Regions from separate parts of the Homo sapiens genome. Here region 1 is linked to region 2. Evidence: promoter capture Hi-C in 16 types of primary human blood cells and fetal thymus (Javierre and others, 2016). All regions are on one chromosome and are shown on one strand. The core of a region is centred on a gene start or on the middle of the fragment in contact, and the rest is flanking DNA. Distances in the headings are between cores, read along the strand shown. Region 1 overlaps MRPS22 (mitochondrial ribosomal protein S22). Region 2 holds the start of U2SURP (U2 snRNP associated SURP domain containing).

Region 1 (2,700 bases), core at 201-2,700, 3.7 Mb after region 2:
CACAGCCATATCCGGACTGCTGGCTTTGGCACAGCATACTCTATCCTAGTTCGTGGCATCACCTATACTACCCAAGATAATACCTTACACATAGAAGGTACTAATGAATACTTACTGAGCTGTAAGACAAACACACTGTACTTCAGCAAAATTTTAGTAAATAATTTGATTCCTATACGGTAAACTGAAAAGAGAATAGGCTTTGTCATCAAACTTGGGTCCTAACCCTACCACTTAGTAGCTATGCAACTTTCAGCAAGCTACTTAATTCTACAAGCTTAAATTCCCTCATCTTTAATCAAGGGTTGTTGTGATTATAAAATATATATCTGGCACACAACTGTACTCAATAGATTTTCAGGTATTTCTCTTCCCTTTCCCCTGTATCAAAACTTACAACGAAATTCATTGAGCTAGATTAAAAATCTTACTCATAACCATACTTAAGCCTATATTTTAGAAACTAAAATCTACTCACCTTGATATACTCTGTGGAATCTGGCTCAAACTGGGCAAAGCAGAGATTGAGGACATCAACATGCCTGTCCTGGCTATACATAGTCTAAAACCACACAGCAGAGTTAGCATCACATGAGAACACTGAAGTTCAGCACCTGTCCTGATGTCATGACAGGCCTGCCCACCCACATACTGGCCACTCTGTGCTCCTCAAGAAGCATAAAGAAAGAACACAGGCTTTGTAATTGTCACACCTAGATTCAAATTCCAGCTAAGCCAATTATGAGAGAACCCTAGTACAACCCATCTTGGGTGGTAAGGAGGATTCTATTAAGAAAGAAGTCGGCCAGGCATGGTGGCTCACGCCTGTAATCCCAGCACTTTGGGAGTCGGATTGCGGGGGGGGGGTGCGAATCCCGAGGTCAGGAGTTCAAGACCAGCCTGGCCAACATGGTGAAACCCCATCTCTACTAAAAATACAAAAATTAGCCAAGCGTGGTGGCGGGCGCCTGTAATCCCAGCTACTCATGAGGCTGAGGCAGAAGAATCACTTGAAACCAGAAGGTGGAGGTTGCAGTGAGCTGAGATCCCGCCACTGCACTTCAGCCTGGGCAAAAGGAGCGAAACTCCATTTCAAAAAAAAAAAAAAGTCAAGTTATCATTAGAAATGTTTATCTGGATCAAGGCACAAAGCCAACTGGTTCTACAAATAAATCATCACCACTGGCTCTAAAACATAAAACCTAAGTCACCTTACCCTAAGATTTTCTTCCTTGAAAATTATTGGTGTCAAAATTTTACGACCTTCTTTTGGGAAATAAACTTGTATCATTCGGTCCCGTTCTTCCCAAGAGGCTTTGCGTAGTGTGCCACTTGGTTCTCTGACGACAATAAAACGCTCCTAAAATAGAAAAACATAATCAAGGATGCGTTTGTGAGGACGTATTTTTAGTTCCTGTGTCCCACTAAGGCCATTATAAGAATAATTTGCAATCAACAATATAAAATGCAATCATGCATATGAGATCAATGATAATTTTAAACCTCAAAGACTTGGCAAGGTTTGATATTTCCTTCACTAATCACTGCTGTGCATCTGACAATCAGAAATCTAAAATGAAAGTATTCAGTAAGTACCAACTATGGTGCTAACGTGAGTTCGATACGAAAAAAGCTGAGATTCATCTATATCCATTTTAGAGGAAAGAAGTGCTATGACCTTTCCAAACTTTCATTTCTCTATCCCAAAGTCTCATCTAAACAGATTTTACTACTTTATGATCTATGTTTAAAGTCCTTGGGATAAAAAGAACAAACCCAAGAATGAGGAGTCTTACTTCTACACTTTTATGATTTCTTATATTGGCATTAGACATAAACATGTCTGAGAGGCTGTCTGGTCCAACTGTCTCTGGTCACTTCGATCTTCCAACTGCCAACTCCCAGGCCATGGGATCACTTCCTCCTCTAAATTCTACCTACTTTTTATACCATTCAACTGGAAATTTACCCCACACAAGATTTTTGGCATCCCTCAGATATTGTTATATAACTGGAAAAGGGCAGGAAATGTGGATTATAATTTTTTGCAATACCGGGAGTGGCATACATGGAGCTTTGCACATTGCTGATAATTGATACACACCTGATTAATGTATAAATTAACCAAACAGTACTGACTCTCAAGTTTTCAGAGGTGTAGGAGTCTCTAAATGTGTTCTGAAGATAACATAGATGAAACTTCCATCAACACTGCCAATCGAAAAAAAAAAAGCACATGCCAACATAATACAATTTTTCCTCAGAAGGATTTTGGTAATTTGAGAAACCTGAATTCCAAGTTCCTTTCTCCTTTTCAAGTTACAAAATGCTTCCCAACCAACATGCACAGCACTGCAAACATATATTAAAGCATCACAAAACAAAAACTGTAATTAAAATTGAAACTCTGTGACTCATGTTCATTATGTCAAATATACAGATGGCTGGTGTTGAACATAGCTCAAATCGTTTTCTAACCATAATCATGTATAATAAAAGATTAATATGGAGTGAACCTTCTCCTAAACTCAGCATTCTATAGTGTTCTAACGTATTCTGTGGGCTGAATTGTAAACTATTCTCTTTTTATTCTTTACTTGCAAAGGCTCAAATACAAAGCTTACATATTTCTAAAATGCCAGAGTGTTCTTTTAAATTTGCAATCAAGTAAAGAGGAGCCAGAGAATAACAATCACAACA
Region 2 (2,700 bases), core at 50-2,549:
AAGCCGAAACTGGCCCCTCACCAAAGTTTCTATGTAACTAAACGATGTCTGTTAAGACCATTACTAATTATGAATTAATTATTTTGGTGTACATCGTTCACCAAATGGCATAAACAGTCGGATTAGAGAAAGCAAGTAGAAAACGAGTTATGATGTTTCTCAGAACTGTAAACGCAAGCTTCTCTCCTACCGTAAATTTAACTTTCTAATAGCCGATTTACAGTCACACACTCTTTAAGATTTAACAGTCCCTAGCACCTGAAAGTGTTACACAGCTTCTTGCATCAGCATCGGAAAGTTTAACTACCTCGTGGCAGTACCAATTACTTTTAATATATTCGAGACCAGAAACCCAAACCAAAAAACGATTAAATGTCCCGCCCAAGATGGCAACTAAGAACCCAACCGTACTAATGCTTAACTACTACCACAGCTCACTGGTTTCACAATACGTGCCCAGGGTTCCCTGTAAACACAAATGCAATTTACTAATCGTATGTAGCTTACAAGTCTACGGAGCTTCTCTTTTCACTGTTTCTTCAACATAAAGAAAGAGACCACGAGTCCTCTACCCTCAAAAGTGCTTTTTACTTCCCGTTAAGGTAAAGACCACGTGTAGACTGTACATTAACCTTGGCTATGCAGCACTGCAAAGGAGAGCTGCTCCCGCCTCTGCATTTCCCACTCCGTGTCTTTGCCCTAGTGGTCCTCCCCTCACAGCTGGCGACCCTAGAGGTTATTCATTCCTTGGAGGGAAACTGAGGGAGGCCGGAAGTGAGTGAGATCCAAAACCGAGAAAAAAGCAGCAGACATTTAAGCACCGGGAAGCGATTCCCGCCTCTCTCCCAGGCGCTGTCTGGCGGCCTCAGGGCGCAGGAAGCTGAGATACAGGAGAGCGTTTTCACTGCTTCAGACCTCAATCTGAATTCCTGATTTCACTCCAATGCCAAGCGCGGGCCGAAGCACTCACGCCTCCACCCACTGGGCACGCCAGTCTCGAGCTGAATCCCGGCTGGGACTATGGGGAGATACCAGGCCTCTCAACCTGCGCACAACGGTGCGGCGGCGCCCGGGCCTACCGTCGCGACTAGAATGCAGACCCCAATCCCAATCGCCTCTCACAGGCCAGAAGCGTCTGTGGGCCCCAAACGACAGTGGTAGATCCGCTGACTTACGAAATTTTGTCAGAAATTACCTTTGAACTGGCCTTCTGAGATCCGCCTGGCGTTTTGTCCGCCATCTTGAGCTTTGCCCCTCCTTCGGCGGCGGCAGCAGCACGGGCGAGTCGAGCACCGAAAGAGCGGATCTCAGTGAAGCCCGCCAGAGGCGCCTGCAAGGCTGAATAGTCGACTGTCGAGATAGCGACCTTAGGGGCAGCCGCTCACGTGACTTCCGGTGTCAGTAATTTCCTCAGCCGCGCTCACTCCGCTAGTTTTCCTGGGAGTCACGGTGCTTGGTCGCGTTATTGGGTCCGGGAATTCAGAGAATCAGGGCCAGCTGATACTTCACCCTCTTATCCCAACGCCAACCCTTGATAGATGCGAACCAGTCGTATTTCCTTTGTGGGAAAGGAGTCGCTTTTTAAAGACGTGCACTGGCCATCTAGGGAGGAGCTTTTACTTCAACTCAAAATAGGACTGGAGCTGACTGGTGACCTGGCGCTCGATGGACGGAAACGCTGTTCTTGCCGCTTCGGCAGCTCCCATACTGGTGGGAGAGGCAAACTTGCAGTCTGCTCATCTTAAGATGGTGAATGTTGAGATAGGGTTGCTCCCGAAAAGCCGAGAAGAGGAGCCGTTTGACCCAACTTGAGGGTGATCCGATAGACACTCTTTAGGGCGTCTGCAGAGTGGGTGCGCGTGGAGACAGTCAATAAGAGAAAATCGTAAATACAGATGGTATTCTAAATCTAGCATGCATGTAAAGTTGTGTGACATTTTAAAGATTACATTTTACACTTTAGTATTGTTTTCATTTTTAATCACATAAATGGGGGAACACCATATTAAACTTTTCTGAACTTAGTACTTTTTTAAAAAGTTCTTAATCAGGGCCTAGATTCAAAGACGGAAAGCTTGCTTGAGAAGGCCATGCCCGAATCAGGCCAGGCAAGGAAAGAAAGGACATTCCAGACAGAGGGAGTAATTGAGGTAAAAGCCTGTGGCATGAATCAGTACAGCCGATCGTGCAGGTCACCTAAAGCAGTCGTTTTATTAGACCAGGTGTGGGGAGGGACGTGGTTGGACAGGGGTGCGGGTGCAGGTTCACACAGCGCCCTGAGGTCACCATCGTGCTTAGGAGTTAGAATTCTGTTCTCAGAATGAAGATCGGCCTTTAACAAGGTTGAAATGGTCAGATTTTTATTTTAAAGTATTGCTCTGAGGACTAGGGTGGGAGTGGAGGGCGTTTGTGGACCTCTCCCTAAATCATTTATTCAAAATATTTTTGAGCCCCGTTTTGTGTGTAAAAGCCTGCCCAAAGTGTTGTAGGGCTTACAGAGACAGACAAACATGCACTGTCTTCATATGATTTAAAACTTAATGAGAAATGGAGGAGACAAGGAAACCGCAAACTGACACTATGCATAATTAAATTGATGCTGCAAGGAAGGATCAATAGCTGAGGGACCTCTGAAAGAAGTAATTAATTCTGAGAGTAGGAGTGAGGAAAAGAGACGGGGCGGGGCAGGGGGGGGGGTGG

What was found. Contacts are between HindIII fragments. The CHiCAGO score rates a contact against its expected background, and 5 or more counts as called.
Region 1: a contact is called between a fragment that was not itself captured here and the fragment with the promoter of U2SURP in region 2, in 1 of 17 cell types (total CD4 T cells). The highest score is 6.2, in total CD4 T cells.

Annotation. Positions count from the first base shown.
Region 1 is chr3:139,348,839-139,351,538 of GRCh38, reverse strand. It overlaps MRPS22 (mitochondrial ribosomal protein S22), which reads right to left. Exons shown (of 8, transcript NM_020191.4): 4 at 1,217-1,360; 5 at 479-562. Among named protein-coding and RNA genes, the nearest start is that of MRPS22, 6.2 kb to the right of the region's middle. The HindIII fragment of the contact is 2,342 bases long and covers 280-2,621 here.
Region 2 is chr3:143,000,169-143,002,868 of GRCh38, reverse strand. It overlaps U2SURP (U2 snRNP associated SURP domain containing), which reads right to left and starts at 1,299. Exons shown (of 28, transcript NM_001080415.2): 1 at 1,196-1,299. The coding sequence starts at 1,240. It overlaps PAQR9-AS1 (PAQR9 antisense RNA 1), which reads right to left. Exons shown (of 5, transcript NR_125393.1): 5 at 1,779-1,842. It overlaps LOC100289361 (a long non-coding RNA gene), which reads left to right and starts at 1,402. Exons shown (of 1, transcript NR_034032.1): 1 at 1,402-2,024. RefSeq lists enhancers at 938-1,587, 862-1,861. The HindIII fragment of the contact is 1,896 bases long and covers 181-2,076 here.